Regions from separate parts of the Homo sapiens genome. Here all the other regions are linked to region 3. Evidence: promoter capture Hi-C in 16 types of primary human blood cells and fetal thymus (Javierre and others, 2016). All regions are on one chromosome and are shown on one strand. The core of a region is centred on a gene start or on the middle of the fragment in contact, and the rest is flanking DNA. Distances in the headings are between cores, read along the strand shown. Region 1 has its middle 13 kb from the start of ARPC2. Region 2 overlaps ARPC2 (actin related protein 2/3 complex subunit 2). Region 3 holds the start of XRCC5 (X-ray repair cross complementing 5). Region 4 overlaps USP37 (ubiquitin specific peptidase 37). Region 5 overlaps CNOT9 (CCR4-NOT transcription complex subunit 9).

The links. Contacts are between HindIII fragments. The CHiCAGO score rates a contact against its expected background, and 5 or more counts as called.
Region 1: a contact is called between a fragment that was not itself captured here and the fragment with the promoter of XRCC5 in region 3, in 1 of 17 cell types (neutrophils). The highest score is 6.6, in neutrophils.
Region 2: a contact is called between a fragment that was not itself captured here and the fragment with the promoter of XRCC5 in region 3, in 1 of 17 cell types (neutrophils). The highest score is 6.7, in neutrophils.
Region 4: a contact is called between a fragment that was not itself captured here and the fragment with the promoter of XRCC5 in region 3, in 1 of 17 cell types (neutrophils). The highest score is 5.1, in neutrophils.
Region 5: a fragment that was not itself captured here is called in contact with the fragment with the promoter of XRCC5 in region 3 in 1 of 17 cell types (neutrophils); the score reaches 6.3 in neutrophils.

Annotation. Positions count from the first base shown.
Region 1 is chr2:218,202,408-218,206,655 of GRCh38, forward strand. No RefSeq gene overlaps it. Among named protein-coding and RNA genes, the nearest start is that of ARPC2, 13 kb to the right of the region's middle. The HindIII fragment of the contact is 3,439 bases long and covers 1-2,994 here.
Region 2 is chr2:218,222,069-218,226,160 of GRCh38, forward strand. It overlaps ARPC2 (actin related protein 2/3 complex subunit 2), which reads left to right. Exons shown (of 11, transcript NM_152862.3): 3 at 3,852-3,886. Among named protein-coding and RNA genes, the nearest start is that of ARPC2, 6.9 kb to the left of the region's middle. RefSeq lists a silencer at 752-801. The HindIII fragment of the contact is 2,321 bases long and covers 336-2,656 here.
Region 3 is chr2:216,107,420-216,111,603 of GRCh38, forward strand. It overlaps XRCC5 (X-ray repair cross complementing 5), which reads left to right and starts at 1,929. Exons shown (of 21, transcript NM_021141.4): 1 at 1,929-2,038. The coding sequence starts at 2,018. RefSeq lists an enhancer at 1,653-2,274. The HindIII fragment of the contact is 16,954 bases long and covers 1-4,184 here.
Region 4 is chr2:218,555,628-218,559,301 of GRCh38, forward strand. USP37 (ubiquitin specific peptidase 37) reads right to left here. Exons shown (of 26, transcript NM_020935.3): 4 at 2,871-3,050. The coding sequence starts at 3,026. Among named protein-coding and RNA genes, the nearest start is that of USP37, 11 kb to the right of the region's middle. The HindIII fragment of the contact is 9,842 bases long and covers 1-3,674 here.
Region 5 is chr2:218,574,543-218,578,700 of GRCh38, forward strand. The region is part of intron 1 of CNOT9 (CCR4-NOT transcription complex subunit 9); the gene reads left to right. Among named protein-coding and RNA genes, the nearest start is that of CNOT9, 7.8 kb to the left of the region's middle. RefSeq lists an enhancer at 3,070-3,570. The HindIII fragment of the contact is 4,423 bases long and covers 1-3,695 here.

The DNA.
Region 1 (4,248 bases), core at 25-2,524, 2.1 Mb after region 3:
CCCTGTCTGTATTAAAAATCAAAAGAATTAGTCAGGCATGGTGGTGTGGACCTGTGGTCCCAGCTACTTGGCAGGCTAAGGCTGTAGGATTGCTTAAGCCTGAGAGATCAAGCCTGCAGTGAGCTATGATTACGCCACTGCACTCCAGCCTGGGTGACAGGGCAAGACCCTGTCTCGAAAATAAATAAATAAATAAATAATTTTTAAAAAATATCTCCTTAATCTCCACTGTCACATTTGCTCCTCCTAACTTAACTGGATCAAGTCATGAGAACACCTCAGGCAAGTTAATAATTTCCCGTTCCTTCAACTCAACATTTTTTCAGTAGAGACAAGGAGAAATTTTCTACTAACAAAAGTGATGCATCTCTCTTTTTTTTTTTTTTTTTGAGATGGAGTCTCGCTCTGTGACCCAGGCTGGAGTGCAATGGCCTGATCTAGGCTCCCTGCAACCTCCACCTCCTGGGTTAAAGCGATTCTCCTGCCTCAGCCTCCCGAGTAACTGGGACTACAGGCGCGTGCCAACACACTCGGCTAATTTTTTGTATTTTTAGTAGAGACGGGGTTTCACTGTGTTAGCCAGGATGGTCTCTATCTCCTGACCTCATGATCCACCCACCTCAGCCCCCCAAAGTGCTGGGATTACAGGCGTGAGCCACCGCGCCCAGCCACATCTCTTTCTATACCAAAACGAGAGGTTCAATATATGCGATTTTCCAAAGCAGGTAACTCCTTGGGAGACCCATTAAACCACTTAAAATTTAAACAACAGGCTGGGCACAGTGGATCACGCCTGTAATCCCAGCACTTTGGGAGGCTGAGGCGGGGGATCACTTAAGCCCAGGAGTTCAAGACCAGCCTGGGCAACATAGTGAGACCCCATCTCTATTAATTAAAAAAATTTTTTTTGTTTAGTCACTCATTTTCTGTAAATAGCACAACCTATTGTATTACATAGGTTCAGACCTTCAGCTTAATGTACTTGATGGCAGTTCTTGGCTGACTCATCTCAGGTTTGGAGGAACAGTTGGTACACGTCTATCACAAGTTTTTAATTTTAAGAAAGAACAATTTGGCTGGGCACAGTGGCTCACACCTGTAATCCCAGCACTTTGGGAGGCTGAGACAGGTGGATCACCTGAGGTCAGGAGTTCGCAACCAGCCTGGCCAACATGGTGAAACCCTGTCTCTACTAAAAATACAAAAATTAGCATGGCATGGTGGCGCACACCTATAGTCCCAGCTACTTGGGAGACTGAGGCAGGTGAATCACTTGAACTCGGGAGGCAGAGGTTTCGGTGAGCCGAGATCGCACCACTGCACTCCAGCCTAGGCAACAGAGTGAGACTCTGTCTCAAGAGAAAAAAAAAAGAAAGAAAGAAAGAACAAGTTATCTTTTTCTTTCTCTGTTGCTCAAGATTTGAGTGCCAAATCTGAGGTCATGAAGATTTACCTCATGTTTTCTTCTAATAGTTTTATCATTTACATTTAGGTTGTTGATCCAGTTTGAATTAGTTTTTGCATGTGGAATGAGGCAAGGGTATGAATTCATTTTTTCTTTTGCATGTGGTTATCCCATTGTCCCACCACAATCTGTTAAAGAGACTCTTCTTTCCTCCCATTAAATGGCACCCTTGTAAAAAATCAATTGACCATAGATGTTTGGTTTTATTGCTAAACTCTCAATTCTATTTTATTGGTCTATATGTGTCTGTCTTTATACAAGTACCACACTTCAGCGTGGGCAATATAGTGAGACCTCAACTCTCCAGAAAAAAAAATATTTTTTTAATTAGCCAAATGTGGTAGTGTGCACCTGTAGTCCCAGCTACTTGGGAGGCTGAGATGGGAAAATCACTTGAGTCCAGGGCCCAGGGGTTGCAGTGAGCCAAGATTGTGCCACTGCACTCCAGCCTAGGTGACAGAGTTAGGCCCTGTCTCAAAAACACCTTCCTGGGAAGTTTGGAAATCAGGTACCTTCCTGGTAAGTTTGGAAATCAGGAAGTGTGAGTCTTTCAATTTTCTTTTTCTTTTTAAATATTGTTTTGGCTATTCAGAGGTCCCTGCAGTTCTCTGGGTATTGTTTTTTGTTTTTTGTTTTTTTTCTTTTTGAGACAGAGTCTCGCTCTGTTGCCCAAGCTAGAGCGCAGTGGCGTGATCTCGGCTCACTGCAGCCTCCGCCTCCCGGGTTCAAGCAATTCTCCTGCCTCAGCCTTCCAAGTAGCTGGGACTACAGGCATGCACCACCATGCCCAACTAATTTTTGTATTTTTAGTAAAGACAGGACTTCACCATGTTGGCCAGGATGGTCTTGATCTCCTGACCCCATGATCTGCCCACCTCAGTCTACCAAAGTGCTGGAATTACAGGCATGAGCCACTGTACCCAGCCTGTCCCTGCAGTTTTATAGGAACTTGAGGATAAGTTTCAATTTCTCCAAAAAAAAGACCATTGGAATTTTGATCGGGATTACATTGAATCTATAGATTGCTTTGGGGAATATTGCCATCTTAACAATATTAACACTCCCAACCCATGAACATGGGATGTCTTTCCATTCATTTAGGTCTTCCTTAGTTTCTTCCATCAATGTTTTTAGTTTTTGGTGTACAAGTCTTTCACCTCCTCAGTTAAATTTATTCCAAGGTAATTTATTCTCTCGGATGCTACTGTAAATTGAATTGTTTTCTTAATTTCCTTTTCAGATTGTTCACTGCTAGTGTAAAGAAACAGAGCTCATGTTTGTATGTTGGCCTTGCACCAACTTTGCTTAATTCCTTTACCAGCTATAGTAGGTTTTTGAGATTCTATGGGATTTTCTATACAGAGAGCCAAGTCATCTACAAATCGTGGTAGTTTTACTTCTTATTTTGCTATTTAGAGGCCTTTTATTTATTTTTCTTGCCAAATTGCTCTGTCTAGGACTTCCAGTATAATGTTGAATAGCACAGATGACAACAGACATCTTTGTCTTGCTTCTGATTCTAGAAACTAAGCTTTTAGTCTTTCACCATTGAGAATGATGTGTTGTGGGATTTTTTTCATAAATGCCCTTTATCATGTAAAGGAAGTTCCCTTTTATCTTAACCCATTCTGCTGCTATCACAAAATACCTTAGAGTGAGTAATTTACAAATAATAGAAATGTATTTCTGCCAGGCACAATGGCTCATGCCTGTAATACCAACAATTTGGGAGGCCAAAGTGGGAAGATTATTTGAGGCCAGGAGTTCAAGACCACCTCAGGTAACATAGCGAGGACTTATCTCTATTAGACATTTAAAAATTAGCTAGGCATGATGGCAGGCACCTACAGTCCCAGCTACTTGGGAAGCTGAAGTGGGAGGACTGCTCGAGCCAAGGAGTTTGAGGCAGCAGTGAGCCAGGATCTTGTCACTGCACTCCAGCCTGGGCAACAGAGCGAGACCCTGTCTCCTCACCACCAAAAAGAAGAAAGAAATTTGCTTCTCACAGTTCTGGAGGCTGGGAAGTCCAACACCAAAATGCCAGAAGATTTGGTGTTTGGTGAGGGCCTGTTCCATATATAGCATTTTCTTGAGGCATCCTCACAATAAGCAGGAAAAGGTAGAAGGGCAAAAGGAGACCAACACGGTGTCCTCACGTAGCAGAAGAGATTAAAGGGGAAAGGGGAGCCAGTTAGTTCTCTCAAGCCCTTTTATGAGGGCACTAATAACCTCCTTCAGGACCCACATCTTAATTCTATTGCATTGGGGTTGAGTTTCAACATATGAATTTTGGAGGGACACATACATTCAAATCATAGCACCTACTATTTCCAGTGTTCTGAGTTTTTATCATCAAAAGGTGCTGAATTTTATCAAATGCTTTTTCTGCATCTATTGAGATGACCATGTTTTTTCTTGTCATTTTATTATTGTGGCATATCACATTGATTGATTTCCTTGTGTTGAACCACTCTTGGTTTCTGGGATAAATTCCACTTAGACATGGTATGTGATTCTGTTTGTTTGTTTGTTTGTTTGTTTGTTTGTTTGAGACAGGGTCTCATTCTGGTTGTCCAGGCTGGAGCACAGTGGTGCAATCTCAGCTCACTGCAACCTCTGCCTCCAGGGTTCAAGTGATTCTCATGTGTCAGCCTCCATAGCTGGAATTACAGGCACATGCCATCACACCAGCTAATTTTTGTTTTTTTGTAGAGATAGCATTCCCCATGTTGGCCAGGCTGGTCTCAAACTCCTGACCTCTAGCGATCCTCCTGCCTCAACCT
Region 2 (4,092 bases), core at 246-2,745, 2.1 Mb after region 3:
ACCAGCCTGGCCAACATGACAAAACATATGTCTACTAAAAATACAAAAATTAGCCAGGTGTGGTGGCGCACACCTGTAATCCCAGCTACTCAGGAAGCTGAGGCTGGAGAATCACTTGAACCCAGGAGGCGGAGGTTGCAGTGAGCAGAGGTGGCACCACTGCACTCCAGCCTGGGTGACAGAGCGAGACCCCATCTCAAGAAAAAAGAAAAAAATGGGGAATTGGATCCTAGGGTGCATTCAGGAGTAAAAACCCCAAAGTTGTTAATGAGAAAAGAAGATGAGATAATACAGTTGCCAGAAGCCCTTTCTGGATTGATTATTGACATTCTAGAAGCTTCCTTAGAGAAAAGATAGAAGAAAATTTTTTCTAAAGGGTTTTAAGAATAGCTCTTAAAACCTGTCTGAATGAATTGATTATGTTTTAGTGTCTTGGGTTGTCCAGGCAGTAACTCTGAGGACTTACCCAGCCGGCTTGTTCTAGGATTCCAGACATTACAGCAGTCTGACACTTATAGGAGTTCTGTTTTTCCTTGTACTGCTAACCAATTCCTGATTCAGGGAATTACCGCAATCCTAAAACCTCTCCCAACCACAGCTTCAGAGTCCGATCTCTGACTCCACCTAGGAGAAGAACTAATTTATTGATTACCTTCTATGAGCTAGGCACTGTGCTATATGCCTTAACATGGTTTCATTTCATTTCTGTGACAGATAGTGGATCTCATTTACAACTGAGAAAACCAGGGCTCTTGAGGATTGGGGGTGGGGGTAGATATTGAATAAGTAACTACTACATATTAAGTAAGCACCGTGCAGGCATCCTTCACTGTGATTCTTGACCTTGTTTATCGTATGGCACACAGAACATGATTGTATTTGTATGGCACATTTGGGTAAATGGTCTAGCCTCTCAGAGATCCTGCCACCTGCTGCCTGCCCTAAGGGATATGGGGATCATTACCTCAGCATATCTATAACTTAAAAGACACCGTTTGAGAAACTTTGCTGTACAGTAGTCCCCCCTTATCTGTGGTTTTGCTTTCTGCAGTTTCAGTTACCTGCAGTGAGCAGTGAACCATGGTCTGAAAATATTAAATGGAAAATCCCAGAAATAAACAATCCATTAATTTTAAATTGTGCACCATTCTGAGTAGCATAATGAAATCTTGCGCTGTCCCGCCCAGGACATGAATCATCTTTTTGTCTAGCATATCTACAGTGTGTACGCTACCCTCTGTTAGTCGCTTAATAGCTGTCTAGGTTATCAGATTGACTGTCACAGCATTGTAGTGCTTGTGTTCAAGTTACCCTTATTTTACTTAATAATGGCTCCAAAGTACAGGAGTAATGATGCTGGCAATTTGGATATGCCAAAGAGAACCCATGAAGTGATTCCTTTAAGTAAAAAAAGTGACCTTGGTGTTTCTTTGCTACAGTTCAGTGCTATCCACACTTTTATTTATCCACTGGGTGTCTTGGAACATATCCCCCACAGATAAGGGGAGACTGCTGTACTGCTGGACATATATCATCTCAGTCTTCACACCAACCTGGGAGGTAGATGTTTTGTCCCCATTTTGTAGAAGAGGAACCTGAGGCCCGGTGACATTTGAGGAGCATTGCCTGTGGTCACATAGCCAATAAATTCTGAATTCTAAATAACTTGCTTTTTCTCACCCCCAGCATCTGAAATTTTAGCAGCTGGTAGAACAGTAAATAATGTAACTATTAATTCTGGGGGCCTATTTAGTGGAACACTTTTCCTGGGCCAGTCTTCCTCCCGCTCCTTTGTAATTTTAAACCACAGAAGTAAAATAACAAACGCCAGGTCTTGGAATTGAGAAGCAATCTTGTGATGGTATACTTCACGCTCAGCAAACTCATCGTTAAGGCACTGAGTTCTCGGACCTCTAACTCCCAGAAGACTTCCCATGAAGTCTCCTTTGGCCTAATACTCTCCTCAGCAGCCATTCTCTCTCTTCTAGCCATAAATAGTAAACTAAAATATTAATGAATGTGATTTGACAAATATTGCTAAGTCAGACAGCAGACCACTTAAGATCGATCGTAGCAACTTTTCCCACAAGGATCTGTGCTCAGGATACTTTATGCCTAGAGAAATTTGAAATTAGAGACTCAAAGTGTGTATGACTTGGAGCCCAAAGGTTATTTATTTATAGTTGGTTTTTCTCAGGTCTTTTGACAAAGTAGGAGAGTGAGGAACTCAGCCCTTCTTTGGCTGAATTAAAACCTAAAGGTTAAAAAAAAACTTACTAAGTGATGTAATAATGGGCTTTTATAAACTCCCTGACTCTTCAGCACAGTCAGCCTTCCCCAGGAAAGTATGCTTCCATGCTTCCTCCCATTGGTCATCCTCTTAATATTTCATTCAGTTGGTCCATGATTAACATTTCCATATTTTTGTTCTTTGCTCTTGTTTTCTAGAGGTGAGGAATGGTATTGGACTCGTTGCCTTTGTTTCCTGGCTACAGTTTCAAAATGAAGGCTCAGAAGCAATTTAAATTTTCATCTAGTTTTTTCCTTCTATTCTGAACTCTCTGCTTCTCCGTAAACCCACTTGATACTTCAATTCGTAGAGATACCCAGTGCGCTTTTCCTAAGTCACATATAGGGCTTTGAAGAAGCAAGGTGAAGCTTTGTATGATTCGTATAGGTTGATTTTTCAGCAGGGCTAGCATGCTTCATAGAAGCCAGTTTTTTTGAAAGGTATTGTCTGGCTTCTATATCAGCTTTTTAACACTCATAAACCATGTTATATATTCCATTATTTCCCAGCATCCCTGGAGAGCAACTTAGTCTTCGTTTCTTTCGCAGGTAATGGAGCAGAGATCGTGGAAAGATACGTACTTGATTAAGAGGTCTTGAGCAAGTTAGACAAAAATAAATGTGAAAACATGCGCATCTTGTTTGCTAGCCCCTAAAACAAAGTGGAATCATTGAGTTTACAGGTAGCTAGCTGGTAAGGCAATAGTCTTCATTTGCTTCCTACTTTGGACTTCAGGTCTGTTCTTGTGTTATATGTAGTAGTTCCATGAGGTAAATAGGTTCATTTTTATTCCCCCATTTTATTGATGATAGGGGAGAATGCAAAGGTGTAAGGGTATTTGTCCCAAAACATGAGCGTGATGAGAAAGCTAAAGTTGTAAAGCAGATGTCCTGACTATTCTTAGTGATTTCATAGTGTTATTTTGTGTTACACTGTCTATTTTAAGTTCCGAGCTGGAATTTACAAAGCAAGACAAAACTAGGGTAGAACTAAAGAGGGTTTCTTGAAGGTGAGTGGTAAGTACTTTGGTGATGTAAAGGAAGAAAGAAAGATGAGTAGGAAGGCTTACAGACGGGTTTTGAAGTGGAATAGAACTTGCCGTTTTGTTTATGGCCCGAAATCATCCTTTCTCTTTAAGCATATTAAAACCATTCTACATTATACTTAGCCATTTTCCTGCTGAACGTTTTACTCCTAATACCACTGTCCTGTGGGGAAGGCATTGACCAAAAGATGGCATTTTGTGGTATATAGCATGTTGTTAGGAAATTCAGAATTGAAAGTGAGCACCAACCAAAGCAGTAGATTCAACAGCAGGTGAAAAACAAAAGCTATAGCTGGCCTTCCTTTTTTATCTGACCTTCCTTTTTTATCCTCTACTTAAAGCAAGTCCAAAGGTTCAGGTCCATGAGAAAATGAATTGTGTACTCTGATTGGCAGTAACCTAAAATTTATACAGAATGGTCTGATCTTAAGTGAAGCTCAGGTGCCTTTCCAGTTCCCTTTGAAGGTAAGCAGCAATACAGTCATCTTAACTGAGGACCTTTTTTGTTGTTTACAGAAACAAACCGGAAGCAGTAGAAGTAACATTTGCAGGTAAGCATCTTTATCTCAGCCCTCTGAAGAGAAGGTACAATATGAAAAATAGGAAATAGGCTGGGTGCAGTGGCACATGCCTGTAATCCCAGCACTTTGGGAGTCCGAGGCAGGTGGATCACCTGATGTCAAGAGTTAAAGAACAGCCTGGCAAACATGGTGAAACCCCCTCTACTAAAAATACAAAAATTAGCCGGGCATGGTGG
Region 3 (4,184 bases), core at 679-3,178:
ACCAGGCTGGGCAACATAGGAAGACCCCGCCTCCACACACACACAGAAACCCCACAAAAATTAGCTGGGCTTGGTGGCACACACCTGTGGTCCCAGCTACCTGGGAGGCTGAGGTAAGTGAATCGCTTGAGCCCAGGGGTTCCAGGGTGCAGAGAGCTATGATTGTGCTACTGGACTCCAGCCTCGGCCGAGCGACACCCTGTCTGTTTCTTTCCTTTTCTCTCTCTCTCTAGCTCTGGATCGTACAAGAAGGGAGACAAGGACCACTGACAAGATATGGTATGTGATACTAATCAGATTTGGCTTCTTTCTGTCCTGCTTCACCAGAGGCTGGACTCTCCTTGTTTCAGTTTCTCCGCTTTCCACAGATAAATCTTTTGTTTCCCGGATAGCCACTTGGCCTGTTTGCCCTTTGCTCCCATTTTTCCTTGTTTGCTTCTTTGTCTGAAAATTTATGCTGTCCTGCTGCCTCCGCTGGGCTTCGTTTCCACCTTTGCTGGAGGAGATTTAGCTGACAACCTCACAGATCTTCCCCGCCCCTTCTGCCGAGCTGATCTTTCTCTTGGAAATCTTACCCGCAGGGAAGGGCGAGTGTCCGTGCCTGCCTGCCTGCCTGCTGCAGCCCGCGCAAAGCTGAGCGGCCAGGGCGCTGCTGTTCCTTTAAAGTATTATTAAAAATAATATTTCAGCTTTTAAGTAACTCCTTGAGTTTGAATCAAAAGCTGGAAGAACCTCCTGGGCTCTATGAGCACCTCTGAATATGTCTGACTCTACATTCTAGAGGCTTCAATGTATTTATAATTTTGGCTCATAGATTCTCCACATCTTTTCAGCTTCAATTCTTGCTTTTCCCAGAAACAATTTTCAAGCAGGAGAGAATATTGATTGGACTTGATTTTCTCAGTTTGGGCAGAGGTTTGCAGACACTTTGCAGGTTGCCAGACCCTTCGTCCAGCCACCTGTCAGCTGGGGGTCATATGGTATAGAAAGCAGTCATTTCTATGCAAGGTACTGCTTGGGCCTGCCTCCCTCAAAGGGGTAGGGGATGCGGGCTGGACAAAGGGCTCGTGATCAAGTAAAGCACTGTGATGACAGCTGCTATTTCTATATCTCCCTAGACTTGTCTTCTAAATTAAACCTTGACTCCTCCCTTCCAAGCTGGAGCCACTGCTAACTACTGGGAGAGCCTTAGCAGATAAAGTCTCATGCCTCCAGGCGTTTGTGCATCCCATTTTCTCTGCAGAGTAGAATCTCCCTTCTACTTTTGTGCTCCTGGGGACGTCCTACTCTTCTTCCCCAGTTGGCTCTAAGGTTATCACATCGGTGAAGTGTTTCATTATCACTTTTTAGAAGAAACTGAGTCTTTTAGAGAAGTTAAGTGACTTTCTGCATTCATACTCATACTCAAGAAAATCTAACTCCACAATAACCAAAAATAAAAAGTAGAAAAAAACCCACAAGTGATGAGAAAAAAAAAAATCAAAAGTTATAAAAAATAAATGAAAAAATGAAATTAAAGGAAAAAAGATTTTTTAAAAAAGTAAAAAAAAGAAAAGAAATCTAACTCCAGAGCTCTGACACAAAATGCCTTAGGTGTTATTCTCAATGAGAGAAAAGGGACGTGAATCTTTAAGTGATTAAGTGAATCTTTAAGTAAATCTGTCGTACTAGCGTTTCAGGCGGCTCAAACACCACACGCTCCCGACTACGGCGGAATGGAGAGAATGTGCGCATGCTCGGCGGGAATCTGCGCATGCTCGGCGGGAATCTGCGCATGCTCGGAGAGAATCTGCGCATGCTCGGCCGGAATCTGCGCGAGCTCGGCGGGAATCTGCGCAAGCTCGGCGGGAATCTGCGCATGCTCAGAGTTCCGGGGCACGGTTTCCCCGCCCCTTTCAGGCCTAGCAGGAAACGAAGCGGCTCTTTCCGCTATCTGCCGCTTGTCCACCGGAAGCGAGTTGCGACACGGCAGGTTCCCGCCCGGAAGAAGCGACCAAAGCGCCTGAGGACCGGCAACATGGTGCGGTCGGGGAATAAGGTATAAAGAAAGCCATGGACTTGGGCTTTACCCGGACTGGGGATCCGGAGAGGGTGGTTCGGAAGCAGGAATCGTGGGATCGCGGTCAAGACAAAGAATGGGGCAAGAGAAGATCATGGTGGTGGGCTCAGTCAGGAGGGCCGGGACCGAGGGATGCGCTATGAGAAAAGCTGGAGATTTGGGGCTCCAAGACCTGAATTTGAGCCTCGCTGACTCCACCTCTTCCATTACCCACCCATCCCATCCCTCTTCTCCCTCTCTACCTGCTCTTTGTCTCACCTGCCTCCCCACCCGCCTCCCCTCTCTCTCTCTTTATCCCATTCCACTCCCTAGCCCCACTTCCTCTATTACTTCCGAGCCTGGGTTCTTAAGATCTCTATGAGAATGAAAATTAGCTGTGATAAAGCAACTATCCCACAGGGCTTGTTGTAAAACTTAAGAGAGGGACTATCTGTGACTAAAATAACTTAAACTGTAAAGCGTCGTATTATTAGCTTTATAATAACGTAGTATCCCGCATTTATTGAAAGCCCACTCTGTGAGGGACGGATCTAAACCTTTTATTCTTATCTCATTTAATCTTCACAACCCCTTGAAGTGAAAACTATTTATCCCCATTTTGCAAGTGGGAAAACCGAGGAATAAAGAACTGTGGGCTTTTCCTGGTGAAATCCGGATTTGAATCCAAGCTGTCTGGTTTCAGGGCCCTGGAGAACCCCTGTGTTGCTAGAAATCTATGACCATTGGTGTCCCAGATCAGTAACAGAAATTACAATGAATTTTAAAGTGATTTTTTTTTTTCAACATAAAAGAGTGGTAGTTGTCTCTGAAGGGTCACTAGAGGGAGATGTGGTTCCAGGGATTAATGAATTTATTCAATACAGATAAACAAGATACGAGTTTGAGCAACTGATCCCTAGTTCCCTCAACTCCTCATTGAGAAATGTTGATTAAAACGATCATGAACTTTTAATAATGCCACTCACCTCCTTTTTTCGTCCTCTTTCAGCTGCTGAAAACTTTGTAGCTCTAGTGGAGGAGCTGTTTGTTGCAGATGAACTGGAAGTAAAATTCTAACAGCCTGTATTGCTTCGGTATAGAAATGAAGAGTTGCTATGCTACCCGGTTTCTCTTTCTCAGTTTTCTTACTGCTGCCAGATAGGAACTCAGAAATATAGACCATTCTGCTTCCAGACAATAAGTTCCATATTTGAAACCCTTTGATGGCACTTACTGGATACCTAATTCATGACAAAAGTGCTTTAGTCCTCTAGAGTTTTCTGGTTTAAAAGTAGCTTTTGTGGGTGTGTATCAAATAAGTGCAGCAGCATATTTTGTGACTCTTAAGTTTTTTTAGGTTATCATGCCCCAGGCATTGAAACTGGGATGTGCATTTTACTGTTCTCAAAGGAATTTTGTGGTTTATTAGCACGTTTTTTTTTTCAAATAATCTAATTTTACTTCAGAAATCTCTTAGTGCATTGTGTTGTTTGTAAACTAGTGAAAAATAATCTTTTCTTTTCATGTGTTGCCTGAGATATAACCACATTTAGAAATCATCTATAACTTCCCTGATAGGAATTCATTCAGGTTTTTAAAACATTTCTAGGGTCAAGAGATCACTTAAAAAAGAGTAGTTTCTTTATTGATCACTTCTAAATGTTATTTTTTATCCCTCGTATGGAGTCGCATCAGTCTCCCTGTAACTTCCATCTGTTGATCCCGTTGTCTTTCTTGGCAGACCAATCCTTTTATACAACAGTTGTCAAATATCTGGGGGGAGGCCAGACACGGTGGCCTATACCTGTAATCCTAGCACTTTGGGAGGCGGAGGTGGGAGGATTGCTTAAGCCAAGGAGTTTGAGACCAGCCTGGGCAACACAGTGAGACCCCAACTCTACAAAAAAAATTTAAGAATTAGCTGGGCATGGTGGGGTGCAACTGTGGTCCCAGCTATTTGGAAGGCTGAGGTAGCGGGATCACTTGAGCCCGGGAGATGGAGGCAGTAGTGAGCCATGATCATGCCACTGTACTCCAGCCTGGGTGACAGTGAGACCATGTCTCAAAAAAAAGGAAAAAAAAATGGTGGGGAGGAAAACTGTTATGTTCCCTTTAATCTTCTCATCTGACTTAAATATCTAGTTAT
Region 4 (3,674 bases), core at 241-2,740, 2.4 Mb after region 3:
GACACTTCAACAACTGAAAAGCCCATCCAGCCCCACAATTTCAGTAACTATTCATATGGTAACGACACACAACTCTTCCTCTATCTTAAGCCCAGACCTCTCTGTTGGAGCTCCAGTCCTGTTTACCTTCTGAATGCTTGACACCTCAGATAACTCATCTCTCCTAATCCTCACACCCCAATTCTTCCCCTCTGCTCCGTATCATGGAAGACATAAAAGTGACTGCCATCCACTCAAAAACTTGAGACTCTCCCCAGATAATTTTCTCTCACACCTCCCAAATCTTTAAATCTTCTTGAAATCTCTTCAGATCTATCCTTTCCTCTTCTTGCTTACTCCACTCCCTTTTCCTTACTTTCATTCCTCATCTAAACTCCCATAATAACCTCCTATATGTCCTTCTATTCTCCCACTATCACCTGAAATAAAGTCATCTGCCTAGCCCCAAAGAAATGTGAGTTTGAGATTCTTGGCTCCTTAGAACTTCTGCTTTCCTTATGACAAACAAGAAACATCAATATCTGGTTCCTACCTAGCTCTTCAGCCTTATTTCTGTTACTCACTCCTCAGTGTCCATATATTTTAAAAATAACTTTCTAGTTCCCTGAGTGCTGATTCACATTTCATGTATTTGTCTACATACAGAAATCACTTCCAGTTTGGCCAGAAAATATACAGAAATCACTTCCAGTTTGGCCAGAAAATTCAGGGTTAAAGAAAAAAAAAAGACATCACTTCCACCTTTACTATGTTTGGCAAACTTCTATTTATTCTTTGAATCTTCAGAGTGCAAATGGCTTGCTTTCTTGTGTTACCTCAGGATCTTTGTAATGTTTTTACAGCTAAAAATGTATTTGGTTACTCTGGGTTTTTCTGTTTTTTTTTTTTTTTTTTTTTTTTTTTGAGATGGAGTTTCGCTCTTGTTGCCCAGGCTGGAGTGCAATGGTGAGATTTCAGCTCACTGCAACCTCTGCCTCCCGGATTCAAGCTATTCTCCTGCTTCAGCCTCCCGAGTAGCTGGGAATACAGGTGCCCACTACCGTGCCTGCTAATTTTTGTATTTTTAGTAGAGACAGGTTTTCACCATGTTGGCCAGGCTGGTCTCGAACTCCTGACCTCAGGTGATCTGCCCACCTCAGCCTCCCAAAGTGCTGGGATTACAGACGTGAGCCATCACGCCTGGCCTATTTGGTTACTCTTAAGTTTGAAGGAAATGATGTCTCATTCAGCTGTGTATACTTACCAGCCCCTGTCCCCCAACCACCCTGTTTCTTTTTCAGACAGGATCCTGCTTTGTCACGCAGGCTGGAGTGCGGTGGCATGATCACAGGCTCAAGCCATCTTCCCACCTCAACCTTATAAGTAGCTGGGACTACAGGTACATACCAACATGCTTGGCTATTTGTTTCTGAATTTTTTTTTGTAGAGACAGGGTCTCGCCATGTTGCCCAGGCTGGTCTTGGACTCCTGGACTCAAGCAATCCTCCTGCCTCAGCCTCCCAAAGTGCTGGGATTACAGGCATGAGCCACTGCGCCCAGCCATCCCTTAGCACAATATCCATAGCAGTAACCTGTACATGGTTTTAACAAACGAATGCTGAATGTAAACTGATCTGGAACTGAGATAAAGGCTGAAGTCACAGGTAAAACCGTCATGCTCCTAAAGATCTGTATTTGGTTAAACATTTGAATATTTACTCACTGCCAAATTGGGCTGAGGATTGAAAAAAAAATGAGCCTGTATTTGCAAAAAACCCTTTCTTTTGATGAGGCGAACAATTAGCAGATATATGCATGTGACAAACTACTATTTTTCCATCACCACCTCTATCTTATTTAAGACTACCTTTGATACACGAAATCATAGGCAATCTATTTTTACAATTCAAAAGCAGAGACAAATACAAATTTTACCTAAGATCAGGTTCTGAAGCATAAAGTTAAATATTGTTTTTCAATAGAATATTTTAGAACGGATATTACACTTTTGCATAATCTAATTTAAAAATATAATATCTTGGCTGGGCGCGGTGGCTCACGGCTGTAATCCCAGCACTTTGGGAGGCCGAGGCGAGCAGATCACGAGGTCAGGAGTTCAAGACCAGCCTGACCAACATGGTGAAACCCTGTCTCTACTAAAAATACAAAAAAAAATTAGCCAGGAGTGGTGGCGCACACCTGTAATCCCAGCTACTCAGGAGGCTGAGGCAGGAGAATCGCTTGAACCCGGGAGGCAGAGGTTGCAATGAGCCGAAATCATGTCATTGTATTCCAGCCTGGGTGACAGAGGAAGACTCTGTCTCAAAAAAAAAAAAAAAAAAAAGGTGAAAAGAAAATTAATTTTTGCAGTGAAAATGAAGATTCTTCAAAACTTCACAGTTAGAAGAAAATAGCTATAAAGATAACCTTGAATAATCATCCTTGAATGATTCACACCATGACATTTGGCAGGATTATTCAGGAAGTAGACACTGGCTTTTAGAAGACACTAATAAATTCTGTTAAAAACTAACACTAAATAGTGATGAATCCATCGTCATGTATGTTAAGGGGAAAAAAAGGAAGAACTAAAATTATCTTAAAGTGGTTTTAAAAATAGCTTAGATATACAGTATCCGAACTCTTGTCAGCTTCCTCCCACAAGTTTTCTTTTCAATAATGGTGACTACTTCCTGCTTTTATTATATACCAACAACAATACTGATGAATAATTTATAAAACATGTACATAAAAATATTAATGTCCTAGAAATAAGAAGCAAGAAATATTAATCTAGGAGGAGGGCTACTGTGATGTTTACTATGGCACAGAATAGCTATTTACTAAATGATCTGCTTCAAGAGCTATTCCAAATCAATATTTGGTATTACCTGAAATATCCTTGGAATTCCTCCAGTATTGTAGTGAACTACTAGGCTGACTTTATTCTCTTTTTCTACAATTTCAAAGGATCCTTCTTTCCACTTTGTAATCCCAGTCTGCATACTTCGAATTCTGATAGGACCATGTATCTTCAGAGGAGACATATTTTCTTTAAAAATTGCTTCTGGCTAAATTAAAAAGCAAAAATATACCTTTACCTGGCAGGTTCTAAGGAAGAAAAATAAGATAAGTTATAACTTACTAGTAATTAATTTCTAACCACCATGCATTTCTTCTGCGCCTTCATTTTCCCTTCTTTGCCATGTGTCCAGTACTGTATTTATTAGTGCCTAAATTCTACATTTTGTATCATTCACAACCATACTGCTACCGCTAAAGACATGTCAACAGGAATAAGATCCCATTCTCAAAGTGATTGCCTTCACCATTAAAGTGTTGATTATTCTCTTCCTTCATGAAAGCTAATGGGTCTGGATTTCCAAATATAAGTTAAAAAAAAAAAAAAAGTGTGTTCAGGCCAGGCATGGTGGCTCAGCCTGTAATCCCAAAACTTTGAGAAGTTGAGGTGGGAGGACTGCTTAAGCCTGGGAATTTGAGACCAGCCTGGGCAACACAGGGAGGCTCTATCGCTACAAAAAAACTGAAAAAACATTAGCCAGGCATGGTGATACACGCCTATAGTCTCAGCTTCTAGAGGGGCTGAAGTGGGAGGATCACTTGAGCACAGGAGGTCAAGGCTGCAGTGAGCCATGACTACCCACTGCACTCCCGCCTGGGCAATAGAGTGAAGA
Region 5 (4,158 bases), core at 234-2,733, 2.5 Mb after region 3:
TAGAACTCATCGATTCTAGAGAGAAGTAGAGTTTCAGTCTCATTCTGCTGTACACTGGCTGTGTGACCTTGAGCACATTAAACCTCTATTAACCTGTTTCCTCTTAGAATTTTGAGAATAAAATGATGTAATCCACAGTGCCTGAAACATGGTATGCTCAATAAATATTACTGCATATTAATAATTTCTGGAAAAGGCAGACCTAATCTATAGTAGCAGAAAACACCCATGATTGCCTCAGGCTGAGTATGGGGTTTACTGAAAAGGGCATTAAAGAACTTTTTGGGGTGAATGGATCTATATCTTCATTATGGTAGCAGTTACTTAGGTGTATAAATTTCTCAAAAATCTATTGAAGCGTACACTTAAAATGAGTTCACTTTTATTGTATGCAAATTATACGTCAAAGTTTTTTTTTTAAAAAAAGAGCCTCTTAGATTAGACTCTCACAACTAAGAACTAAATAATTTCTAAGATTTTAGAGTTGCCTGAGACTGACAATTATTTAATATAGTTCCTTCACTTTAACAATGAGAAAATTGAGGTTTGGAAAGTTAAATGACTTATCCTAGGTCACACAATTCTAGAAAGAGCAAAACTGGATTTTGAAGTCACTTCAGGCTCCCACGCCAGTGTGTGTTCCAATTATATACACATGTAGTTCCTTGCAAATTGAGGTCTTTCCTGTTCTTCAATTTGATAAACAGATTCTTAATCCTGGGTACATGGATACATTGCAGGAACTCTGTGAACTCCTTAAAATTATGTGTAGGTTTTCGTGTTTTTGCAGTTGTGTATTTTTCTGAGTAAAAGATCCACAATTTTCTTTTTTCTTTTCTTTTTTCTTTTTTTTTTTTTTTTTGAGATGAGTCTTGCTCTGTAGCTCAGGCTGGAGTACAGTGGCTCAGGCTGGAGTACAGTGGTGCAATCTCCGCTCACTGCAAGCTCCGCTTCCCGGGTTCACGCCATTCTGCCTCAGCCTCCCAAGTAGCTGGGACTACAGGTGCCTGCCACCACACCTGGCTAATTTTTTTGTAGTTTTAGTAGAGATGGGATTTCACCATGTTAGCCAGGATGGTCTCACACTCCTGACCTTGTGATCCTCCCACCTCGGCCTCCCAAAGTGCTGGGATTACAGGCGTGAGCCACCGTGCCGGACTTCATTTGATTCTTAAAGGGTCTGGGCCTCAAAAAATGTCAACCTCTGCTCTCTTGGTTGGTATCCTGCAATTATTATTAATGCTTCAAATAAGGTAATTTCCAGTAGAGAAGTCATAGATTAATTTGCTTGCCTGTCAGTGAGCAATGTGTGCTACTAGATTGAGTTCCATATCAGCCACAGCCTTAGAAATGTATTAGTAAATTAAAAATTCAAAGAGTTGTAGCATCTGAACTAGGAATCATTAGAGGTGATCGTTACAGAGTGGCATGAGGAGTAAATCTGCCTGTTGTCTGCCCATGGTTTCATCGATTGTTAAATGAGGTTAATAACCACCATGTTGTGATCATTAAATGAAACCATGTTTTTAAAAAAAGGTGGTACAACAGAACTAACTCTTCCCTCACCTGCCGTACCCCTTCTTCTACTGCCCGCCTCCTTTTAAAAAGATGTCAATTACAGATTCTTTTTGTGAAAGATGGGCCTAAATAACTCTTGGGATATGGAAGGAGAGTAAGATACATTTTGAGTTTTGGTGTTTTATTTAGGAATGTCCAAAATATTTTATCAATCATCTGGTTATATAAATTAATATATAACTCAAAATATAAGAATATTTCCTTTTTATTCTCCAAAACAATGAAATTCCTATATGTGTGTTACAAAATTGCTTGTTATATGTCCATGTGTGTGTTGGTGGTTCTCACTAAGTAAATTATGCCCCATCTGATCCATAATGTGACACAGGGAACTATGTGAAACTATTGTACTGACTTCTCTCTGAAAACAATACCTATTAAGTGCTTTGTAATCTCAATAAGTAGAGAATTTCTCCTAACATCAATGCTACTGTTCATAGTACTGAGTGTTCTTTCAGATTTTGTTGAACTACCACCAATAACATTTTACTTTTTGTCTGAGATTTTTATGTATTAACTATATTGTCTAGGTCAAAGAATATAATTTATTAGGAAGTCATTTTTAGGCTGAGCACAGTCGCTTATACCTGCAATTCCAGCACTTTGGGAAGCTAAGGCAGGCAGATCACTTCAGGTCAGGAGTTTGAGATCAGCCTGGCCAACGTGGGAAGGTCCCATCTCTGCTAAAAATACAAAAATTAGCTGGGCATGTGGCATATGCCTGTAGTCCCAGCTACCGGGGAGGCTGAGGCAGAAGAACCGCTTGAACCTGGGAGGCGGAGGTTGCAGTAAGCTGAGATCACACCACTGCACTCCAGCCTGGGAGACAGAGTGAGGCTCCATCTCAAAAAAAAAAAAAAAGTCATCTTTAGATCAGATTTTGTCTTTCAGGCAGATGAGAAGCAGCATTAGCAAAGCGGTTAAAAGTGTGGGCTCTGTTGCTAGAACACCTGGGTACAAATCCTAGCTTGCCATTTAAATTTTACATAACTTCTCTGTGCCTCAGATTTTCCTTATCTATAAAATGAGAGTGCTGGTAAATATAAGTATTTAGGACAGTGCCTGGCAGAGTAAGCACTGTATGTTTTAAGCTCTCATTTTTATTTTTAAAAAATTGTATTCATCCCATGACAGGTGGGTATTCAGTTGGTGTAACTTACTGCTGTTATTAAATTGGGGGTGAAATGCAACAGGGATGATGAAAAGGAGGATCCCCACCCTAGATATTTCCTGGCACCAAACTGCCCTCCTTTTGGCTAGAATGACAGCAGAACCCATAACACCAAGCTAGTGCCCATGGGGGCCACATTACCACCCACCTGACATGGTTCTAGCTCTCTTAGAATCAAAATCACATGGAGGCTGCAGCCCCCACAAATAATCTCACAAATTGGAGTATTGCTAGCAGCAGGTGTCCATGGCTTTAGGAACCCGTGTACGCACCAGGCATTGGCCTTTCAGAGTGCCTACACCACTGCCAGCAGGGCCATCTTCTCTGTGGGCATCAGGCCAGCTCCAGAAAGAGAATATGTAGGGATGGGGCCTGGTGTTCAGGAGGCATGGTATGCAAACCAGTGGTTACCAGGGCAAGATGGGGTACAAGGTGCCAACTGCAAGTCACACACTGGCTCCAGTAGGGATGATGGAGTTTACTGATGGTGGTATCTGTATGACAAGACTTTGGGGAAGGTCAGCTGGAATGGGTACTGATTAATCAGGAAAGGTACTATATTGCCAGACCAGTATCTGTGAGGCCCCCTTTGGTTACTGGATTGTGGGGTCATCCAAGAGACTGGGCAGGAAACCTAACACTAAAATTTTATCCTGTGTTTCTGCTGAGCGTCTAAGGTGATGTAATATTCTAAATAAACACATACCCTATCTTCAGGTAGGAATTACATTTCCAAAAATAGTTTTTAAGTTGAGGGCCTGTTTGTGGCTGCCTAGAAAGGGCAAGTGCCTGAACAACACTGCTTTTGCTGTTGGGAAAGGAGGAAAAAAGCTACCATATTCCTTCTATCATATTGTTGCTTTAAGAGCCTATGATTGATTCCTTGAGGACCATCCCTGAAGGGAGTTACAAAACAGCTTTTAGCAGATTACTGTAAGGCACTTAAAGCTTAAGCTGCATTGTATTTCAGTCTATTTAGCAGAACAACTTGTGGTTCTTTCTGTCAGGCTAGTGAAATAGTAAAAATAAAGCTAAAAACTTACAATGAAGCTTCCATTTTTAAAAGGCCATTATTCAGATTGGGTAGAGTAAATTTGAATCCACTTCAAAGTCTATTTTATGCTTCTGATCTTCAACAAAGGCAGTTCTTTGTGTTCTTTGTCTTTACATCTGTACAATGGGTAGGTCATCATTCTGTCAAGCTAAGATCTTTTGGGAACTTATAAGTACTGTGAGAAACTGTAATATAGTTCAAAAAAGTACGGGAATATGCAACTTCATACCTTCATACCTGGTTAAATTGAGTGAGTTAATTCCTCTGAACATTAGTGATCTCATCTGCAAGTGTAGATAGCCTTCCCCCCCGCCTCCCGCTCCTTCTTTTATTTCTCATGGTTGGGGGCAATTAC